2 separate regions of the Homo sapiens genome follow, and region 1 is linked to region 2. Evidence: promoter capture Hi-C in human tissues and cell types (Jung and others, 2019). All regions are on one chromosome and are shown on one strand. Each heading gives the region's core, a stretch centred on a gene start or on the middle of the fragment in contact. The rest is flanking DNA. Distances are from core to core; before and after follow the strand shown. Region 1 overlaps MEIOB (meiosis specific with OB-fold). Region 2 holds the start of TSR3 (TSR3 ribosome maturation factor).

The links. Contacts are between HindIII fragments. The study calls those that stand out against the background at their distance.
Region 1: a fragment that was not itself captured here is called in contact with the fragment with the promoter of TSR3 in region 2 in 1 of the 25 tissues and cell types used here (lymphoblastoid cells).

What each region holds. Positions count from the first base shown.
Region 1 is chr16:1,864,389-1,869,648 of GRCh38, reverse strand. It overlaps MEIOB (meiosis specific with OB-fold), which reads left to right. Exons shown (of 14, transcript NM_001163560.3): 2 at 1,465-1,542; 3 at 3,814-3,871. The coding sequence starts at 1,474. Among named protein-coding and RNA genes, the nearest start is that of MEIOB, 5.1 kb to the left of the region's middle. The HindIII fragment of the contact is 4,524 bases long and covers 1,655-5,260 here.
Region 2 is chr16:1,350,518-1,354,824 of GRCh38, reverse strand. It overlaps TSR3 (TSR3 ribosome maturation factor), which reads left to right and starts at 2,947. Exons shown (of 6, transcript NM_001001410.3): 1 at 2,947-3,132; 2 at 3,227-3,446; 3 at 3,825-4,018. The coding sequence starts at 3,021. GNPTG (N-acetylglucosamine-1-phosphate transferase subunit gamma) reads right to left here and starts at 2,894. Exons shown (of 11, transcript NM_032520.5): 1 at 2,808-2,894; 2 at 2,666-2,723; 3 at 2,519-2,586. The coding sequence starts at 2,859. RefSeq lists a silencer at 2,670-3,369. The HindIII fragment of the contact is 21,021 bases long and covers 1-4,307 here.

The sequences.
Region 1 (5,260 bases), core at 2,667-5,166, 510 kb before region 2:
AAACCCCGTCTCTACTAAAAATGCAAAAACAAAATTAGCCAGGCGTGGTGGCAGGTGCCTGTAATCCCAGCTACTCGGGAGGCTGAGGTGGGAGAATGGCGTGAACCCAGGAGGTGGAGCTTGCAGTGAGCTGAGATTGCACCACTGCACTCCAGCCTAGGCAACAGAGTGAAACTCCATCTCAAAAAAAAAATGTCCTATTGAATCATCTTGCATGTAAAACTCTAAATTTGGCTGGGCTTGGTGGCTCACGCCTGTAATCCAGCACTTTGGGGGCGGCCGGATCACTTGAGATCAGGAGTTCAAGACCAGCCTGGCCAACATGGTGAAACCTCGTCTCTACTAAAAATACAAAAATTGGCTGGGCATGGTGGCAGGCGCCTGTAATCCCAGCTATTTGGGAGGCTGAGGCAGAAGAATCGCTTGAGCCTGGGAGGCGGATGTTGTGGTGAACTGAGATTGTGCCACTGCACTCCACCCTGGGGCACAGAGTGAGACTGATGTCTCAAAAAAAGAAAAAAAGTTAAAACAAAATTAAAAAATAAAATAAAACTAAATTTACATGGTGCTCAAAAACTACTAAATTTTACATGGTTTTAGAAATGAAAGTTAAAAATTGAAACCTATAATAGCTATATCATTCAAAATTATAAAAGGACATTCTGAACATGTTTTTTATAGGTTTAATCGATATTAATTTACATTTTACCATTATAATAAAAATTTTCCAAAGCAGTAAACTATCCAGTGCTTTCCTAAATAATATTTTATTTTATTTTATTTATTTATTCTTTGAGATGGAGTGTCGCTCTGTCATCCAGGCTGGAGTGCAGTGGTGCCATCTCAGCTCACTGCAAGCTCCGCCTCCCGGGTTCACGCCATTCTCCTGCCTCAGCCTCCCGAGTAGCTGGGCCTACAGGTGCCTGCCACCAAGCCCAGCTAATTTTTTGTATTTTTAGTAGAGACGGGGTTTCAGCATGTTAGCCGGGATGGTCTCGATCTCCTGACCCTGTGATCCGCCCTCCTCGGCCTCCAAAAGTGCTGGGATAATAGGCATGAGCCACCGCACCTGGCCAATAATATTTTATTTTATTTTATTTTATTTTGTTTTATTTATTTTTGAGACAGAGTCTCGCTCTGTTGCCCAGGCTGGAGTGCAGTAGTGCGATCTCGGCTCAGTGCAACCTCTGCCTCCCAGGTTCAAGCACTTCTTCCTGCCTCAGCCTCCTGAGTAGCTGGGATTACTGGTGCCCGCTACCACGTGAGGTTTCGCCATGATGGCCAGGCTGGTCTTGAACTCCTGACCTCAGGTGATCCATCCACTTCAGCCTCCCAAAGTGCTGGGATTACAGGTATGAGCCACCATGTCCGGCCCTAAATAAGATTTTAAACTCTTGGAATTTTTTAAATGATTTATTTCATTTATTCAATTTATATATCTAAATTATATTTTCTAAAATGCAGATTAAAAAAATGGCAAACTCCTTTGCAGCGAGGATTTTCACTACCCTTTCAGATCTGCAGACAAATATGGCTAATCTGGTAGGTTTCAATAATGTGGTGATTTGCTTACTGATGACATTTTATGTGATAACATTACATCAATGTTATTGATTCATTCAACACATGCTTTTATAATTGGCAAGTATATAGATACTCATTGCATTGGTATAATTGTTAGATATTAAGTATACCTAAATTTCTTTGTATTTATGCCACCTAGATGAAAATTAATCTTTGTGTGTAGAGTAGAAGATATGATTGTAGATTTGACTAGTAATTGTTCAAAATGATCAATAGATGTATTATTTTACTTAATATTTTATAAAGTGAAAAATTTAATAAATGCTCAAATTTAGCATTGTAAAATTAAACCAGGCCAGGCACAGTGGCTCATGTCTGTAATCCCAGCACTTTGGGAGGCTGAGGCAGCTGGATCACCTGAGGTTGGGAGTTTGAGACCAGCCTGATCAACATGGAGAAACCCCATCTCTACTAAAAATACAAAATTAGCTGGGTGTGGTGGCTCATGCCTGTAATCCCAGGTACTCAGGAGGCTGAGGCAGGAGAATCGCTTGAAGCCAGAAGGCGGTCTCAGTGAGCCGAGATCGCACCATTGCACTCCAGCCTGGGCAACAAGAGCAAAACTCTTCTGAAAAAAAAAAAAAAAAAAAAAAAAAAAAAAATTAAACCATTTTGTTCAGCAGTAGCAATTTTCTGACCAAATTATCCAATTTATGGTCTAAGTACTTGACATTATGCTGCTTTTATGATATAGGTTTATAACATGTGTGTTTTCTACAATGATGATGTGAAAATTGACTCTTTGAGTAGGAGTTATAGGGGAATTCAATGATTTTGAACACATCTCGACTGTTACTTACTTAAAAGAAAACTAAGTGGAATCATCTTATAAGTTAAAGAACTTATTGTAAAGCAGCTACCACACACCCTTACCTTCCCTGCCCCTGAGCACTCTGCTATTTATATTTTGCTTTTGCAAACTAGATTTCTTACAATGGGATACATTTACATATAACTTTAATAATTTAAAATTTTAAAATATTAAAAAATAACAATTGTTGTTATAGTTTTTCTTGAAAGGTAAACTATTTGCTAATAATGGTCTCTTCAGATAGAAAGTTTTACTCAACATTTCCATTAATTGGATTTTCCAACAAAATTCAGTGAGATCTGCAAGTATAAGGAATTGAAGAAATAATATCAATGTGTCTAAATAAGCAATAAAGCTAGCTAATAGCTCAGCTAGAATGTAGGAGTCTTAAAAGCCTGATTGTAATTTAAATGTCAAGATTATTGTAAGGTTAAAATCAGTTGCTGCAATTAGCAAAATAAGTTTAGTTTTTTTCCTTTCAGAAAAGGTATTCATTTTTATTTTTTATTATTTTTTTTTTATTTTTATTTTTTGCGATGGAGTCCTGCTCTGTTGCCCAGGCTGAAGTGCAATAGTGGGATCTAAGCTCACTGCAACCTGTGCCTCTGGGTTCAAGCGATTCTCCTGCCTCAGCCTCGCGAGTAGCTGGGATTACAGGCACCCACCACCACACCTGGCTAATTTTTTGTATTTTTAGTAGAGATGGAGTTTCACCATGTTGGTCAGACTGGTCTCAAACTCATGACCTCAGGTGACCCACCCGCCTCAGCCTCCCAGAGTGCTGGGATTACACGTGTGAGCCAACACACCCGGCCCATTTTTATTTCTTAAAACACATTTAAAATTTTTCTTCAGTAGTCACTAAAGAGAACATTAAACATTTTGAGGAGATGTTAATATCTCTAAGTTTTAAGATCTAGGACTTTAGAATTTAGATTTATTAGCAGCAAAATATAAGTTTTGTTACAGTCTAATTTATATTACTGTCCAGCATGTTTGGATTAAGAAGCTAAGTGATTTTATGTGGATTGTTAGAAAACCCTATATAAAGGAAAGCTTTGAAGACTGTGGCAAATTAAATTGCATTATACATGTGCTTTGGATGAATTCAGTAAGGATTGATAGCATAGGGCAGTTATTATGCTCCATCTGGTGATTGAAAATAAAGTAGAAATATGCTAAGTATTAAATGATTATATTTGTAATAGTAGTTAACTTTTGGATTACTTTATACTATTCCTTGTGGAATTGAACATTTATGAACTTCTTTTAGATGTTTGCCTGGAATAAATACATTTAAATGGTTCCTAGTCAGAAATGTTTGTTAGAGCCAGTAAAGTATAACAAGCCCATGAAATTAAATTTATCAAGTACATCTGTGTTTAATATTGGTCTTCTGTGACCTTTTTGTTTTTCAGAAAGTTATCGGTATAGTTATTGGGAAAACAGATGTCAAAGGCTTTCCAGACAGAAAAAGCTGAGTTCTGTTTAACTCTTGGTTTCATTTTTCATCAACTTTGGCTTATGACTACAACAAAGTATATTGAAGTGATTAATTTTTCTATGCCTGTTTAACTCCTTAAGAGCAATGGTCATGCTCTCTATTGGATGGTCAAGTACCTGATTCAAGGCTTTCTCTCTCCCTCCCTCCCACATTCTCTCTCTCTCTCTATATATATGTATACATACACACATATGTGTATATATGTTTATGTGTATACACACACGTGTGTATGTGTGTGCATGTGTATGTGTGTGTATGTGTGTACACGTGTGTGTATATATGTATATTTGAGTACATGTGTTCTCTCTTTTTTTTTTTGAGATGGAGGCTCGCTCTGTCACTCAGGCTGGAGTGCAATGGCACGATCTCGACTCACTGCAACCTCTGCCTCCTGGGTTCAATCGATTCTCCTGCTTCAACCTCCCGAGTAGCTGGAATTACAGGCACATGCCATCATGCCCAGCTAATTTTTGTATTTTTAGTAGAGATGGGGTTTCACCATTTTGGCCAGGCTGGTCTTGAACTCCTGACCTCAAGTGATCTCCCTGCCTCGGCCTCCCAAAGTGCTGGAATTACAGGTGTGAGCCACCATGCCCAGCCCCTGGTTGATTTAAAAAAAACAAAAATTTGTAGAGACAGAGTCTTGCTCTGTTGCCCAGGCTGGTCTCAAACTCCTGGGCTCAAGTGATCATCCCACCTCATCCTCCTAGAGTGATCAGATTACAGGCATGATGCTTTTATCTTTAAGGTAAATAACCAAGCTGTCATCTGGTACCCATATCATTTGTGCCTGCACTTTATTTCATCTTAACTAATTAGATCAGAAATACTAAATAAATAGTTTGAGGAAGTCTATATCTCCTTTTACCAAATTTCAGAAGGCATCACTTAAAATGTGTGAATTAGAAAAAAGTAGTTATTAAAATACTTGCTAAAATTATAAAAATGAAATACACGGTTTTTTGCCAGGCACAGTGGTCACGCCTGTAATCCCAGCAGTTTGGGAGGCTGAGGTGGGCGGATCACCTGAGGTCAGGAGTTTGGGACCAGCCTAACCAACATGTAGAAACCCCCTCTCTACTAAAAATACAAAATTAGTCAGGCATGGTGGCAGGCGCTTGTATTCCCAGCTACTCGGGAGGCTGAGGCAGGAGAATCGCTTGAACCTGGGAGGCGCAGGTTGCAGTGAGCCAAGATCACGCCATTGCACTCCAGCCTGGGCAGCAAGAGTGAAACTCTGTCTCAAAAAAAAAAAAAAAAAAGAAAAGAAAAAGAAATTCACAGTTTTTCACCTATCAGACTGTGAGGGAAGGAGAAAAACTTCTGTGTTGTTTGACTTCTTTTTATGATGACATCTGTGG
Region 2 (4,307 bases), core at 1,698-4,197:
AATGGTCTGGAGAAAAACACCATCAACAAAACAAAAAGATCAGGAAACTGGGAAACAAATGTGCCACTTACATCCAAAGGTGGGAAGAGAACTGTTCCAAATTAAAACACTAAAGACACATAATGAACCAAATGCACATGTGAACCTGACTGGCCCTGATGTGGGGATGGGGGTGGGAAAACTAGAAGAGGTATTCTTTTCTAAATTTTTATGGGTTTTTTTTTTTTTTTTTTTTTTTTGAGACGAAGTCTTGCTCTGTCACCCAGGCTGGAGTGCAGGGGCATGATCTCAGCTCACCGCAGCCTCCGCCTCCTGGATTCAAGCAATTCTCCAGCCTCGGCCTCCCAAGCAGCTGGGATTACAGGAGGATACCACTATGCCCGGCTAACTTTTGTTTTTGTGGTTTTTTTTAGTAGAGACGGGGTTTCACCATGTTGGCCAGGCTGGTCTCGAACTCCTGACCTCAAGCGATCGTCACACCTCAGGCTCCCGAGCAACATGCACGCACCACCACGACCAGCATATTCTGTTTTCTTTCCAGGACTCTCACCTCCAAAAAGACGTGGTCCCATTAGCCAAGGCTGCCTCTCTCCTACTGGAAGGGGTTCGGTCGGGAACTGCGCTGTTACACAGTGGCCTGCCTCCTCCCCAGCTTCTTGGGATAGGTGGTGGCCCGACTCCAGCACTTCAGGCCCTGGGAAGCCACCATCCCATGGCTTCTGAGCCGCAGGGAAGTGAGCCTAACCCCAGGTGCGCCATCACGCCCAGCCACACAACAAAAAACTTAAAAAGATGTGTTTGGAGTCAAAGTCCACCAAACCTACCAACACGGTGCGGCACCATCTGATCCCCTTTATCTCTGATCTGTGGCTACCCCAGCTGAATCCCCTCTGGCCCTGGCTGTCCTGCTCAAGGCCTTTGGCCACTCCCTTTCCTGGATCCCTTTCCCCAAATAGCCACAGCTTTACTCCCTTTTCTCCTTTAGCTTTTGGCTGAAATGTCACTTCTTAGACTTTTCCTCAGCACCCTATTTAAAGCAATCCCCACCAAGACAGGAGGATTGCTTGACGCTGGGAGTTTGGGGCCAGCCTGGGCAACATAGTGAGACTTCCATCTCTACAAGAACACTTAACATTTGCCGGGCATGGTGGCGTGCACCTGTAGTCCCAGCTACTCAGGAAGCTGAGGTTGGTGGATTGCTTCAGCCCAGGAGTTCAAGGATGCAGTGAGCTATGATTGCACTACTGCACTCCAGCCCGAGTGAGAGAGCAAGACCCCGTCTCTAAAAAATAAAAAAAGCGATCCCCCAAACAATACTCTAACACACATACACACACTCCCTCCTCTGCTTCACACATCTACATGGCATTTTTCATCATTGGCCATTCTATGTATTTTATCTAATTCTACAGGCTCAGTGCCTGTTCCTCCATCCCTCCCCATTAGACTGTCAGCTCCATGAGGACAAGCATTGGTATATCTGTGTTCGTTTCTGCAACCCCAGCACAGACCCTAACACATAAAGGTATTCGATAATAAAATTACTAAAGCTGGGCGCGGTGGCTCACGCCTATAATCCCAGCACTTTTGGAGGCCGAGATGGGCGGATCACTTGAGGTCAGGAGTTCGAGACCCGCCTGGTCAATACGGTGAAATAAACCCTATCTCTACTAAAAATACAAAAATTTGCTGGGCGTGATGGTGATGCATGCCTGTGATCCCAGCTACTCGGGAGGCTGAGGCATGAGGATCGCTTGAACCTGGGAGGCGGAGGTTGCAGTGAGCCGAGATCGTGCCACTGCACTCCAGCCTGGGCGACAGAGCGAGACTCTTGTCTCAAAAAAAAAAAAAAAAAAATTCTTGGATTTTTGTCTATTATATTTAATACTCATTCAGCGTTTAAATGATATATATACTCATGACCCACCAATTCCACTTCTGGAATCCTGCACTGGGAAACCGCTCACCTGAGGGCAAACCAAAGCACCTACACAGCATGTTCTCCACAGAACTATTTCTAATGGCCAAAAAAATGGCAAGAACCTAAATACAATCGGGGAGTGCAGTGCCATCCTATCGCGTGCTGAGCACCAAGAGAAAGAACGAAGACCTATATCATCACCATGAAGCGTCCCGAGAGATACAGCGAGTGACAACGACAAATCAGCCAAATACTCGCGCAGCATGATTTTTTAAAAAAGCGATTAGATTACAAAAACTATACGTTTTCCAGTTGCATAGACACGCACGTAAAAGCACAGAAACGCGTCTGCAAAGTCACCAGACTATTAACAGCAGTTACCTCTCGGAAAGGAAAGGAAGGACTAAGTCTGGAGATAATTTAATTCGCTACAAGAACGTTCTGGTATATTCTCTCGTACTTCCACATTAATTTTAGAAGGCTGACAAACCAATGCTTTAGACTCCGGGCCGTAACTCTCAGGGTCACTCATCCATCCTCCACTGTTGCTGCTCCCCGCGGCCACCCCCGCGCCGGCCAACAGCGCTCCTCACTCACCAGACACGGGTGAAGGATCCCTCTTGGCCTGGAGGCGACTGGCCTGAGGCAAGAACGGGTTGTTCACCCTACGGGAAGCGGCAAGGTCAGCGGGGAACGGGCCCGGGCCGTCCCCCGCTCGAGCCGCCAGCCCGCGAGGCTGCTCACCCAAACGCGTTGGGCTCCTCCACCACCTTCATCTTCGCTGCACCTGCCGGCGCGGGCCCTACGGGGAGCGAGACCGTGAGCGGGGAGGCCGGGGTGCAGAGCGCGCGCGGGGCCTGGGGACGCGGACGGCCGGGCCACTCACCGCCGGCCGAGAGCCCGAGGAGCAACAGGAGCCGCGCCAGCCCCGCCGCCATCGCGCCGCAGCGGCCGCCGCGCGGTCACGTGAAGTGACGGTCACGTGACCACGGGGACCGGAAGTGGCGTCCGGCGCAAGCGCTGGCAGCCGCACAGCCCATTGGGAGGCCGAGGGGCGCGGCCGTGGGGTGGGGAGTCCCCGGCACCCCAGGTCCGCGCCATGGGCCGCAGGAGGGCAGCGCGCGGGCCGGGGGCGGAAGGCGGCCGCCCTCGGCACCTCCCGACGCGCTCCCTGGAGGCCTTCGCCGAGGAGGTCGGCGCCGCGCTGCAGGGTGAGCGAGGCGTGATGGGGAGAGCGGGTCAGGGTTTGAGGGCCTGCCCGGGGGTCCCACGCTGAGGCCGAGTGCCCTTCTCTCTCTCGTGCAGCTTCCGTGGAGCCAGGGGCGGCTGACGGCGAGGGCGGCCCGGGCCCGGCGGCGCTGCCCTGCACGCTGGCCATGTGGGAGTTGGGCCACTGCGACCCCCGGCGCTGCACGGGCCGCAAGCTGGCCCGCCTGGGGCTGGTGCGCTGCCTGCGCCTGGGCCACAGATTCGGCGGTCTGGTGCTGAGCCCCGTGGGCAAGCAGTACGCGTCCCCCGCAGACAGGTAGGCGCGGGAGGCCTGCCCGAGGTCGTCTTCATTTCCAGCGCGTGGTTCCCTTCAGGGATGGTTTAGTGGCACTTGTATGTCGCACCCACATCCACACCCACGTGGGCAGGGAACGTCTGTCTAGTTTGCCTCCGTTGCGTAGCGCAGAGCCTGGGATAAAGGAGGTTTTGGGGTAATAAACGTTTGTTGAGTGAATAAACACATGCTCCAGGTGCCCCAAGCAGCTGCCTCAAAAGCTTGCTCGTGAAGTCCGTTTGAGGGTGTTTGGGGATGGCGGAATGATGTCCCTGAATCCCTTAGCTAGGCCATTCTCCGGGGCATGCTCCACCTTGGGTAGTGCTGGCTCCTGAACTTATCCCATGCTGTCCCTGGCAGACAGCTGGTGGCGCAGTCTGGGGTCGCCGTCATCGACTGCTCCTGGGCCAGGCTGGACGAGACACCGTTTGGGAAGATGCGAGGGAGCCACTTGCGCCTGTTGCCCTACCTGGTGGCCGCCAACCCCGTGAACTATGGCCGGCCCTACAGACTTTCCTGCGTGGAAGCGTTTGCTGCCACCTTCTGCATCGTAGGTGAGTCCAGGGGCCCCACAGCAGTGTGACCCGGCGGCCTGCTGTTCCTGCTATGCTCCCAGCATCATGTTTCCTGCCGACAGACCCCAGGAGGAGCATAAGGGACGGACAGGGGAACAGTTCAGACAGACCACGGTTCCAGCCCCAACTGTCACTTCAGGTTTTCGGCCTGTGGAGTTGCAGTAGAGGCAGAATGGGATCGCTGTTCTATCAGGGCCGGTGTGTGGGGTGCCATTCATTATCAGGGCACCACTGCCCAGAGAATCCTCCTTATCCTCCACGTCCTCCT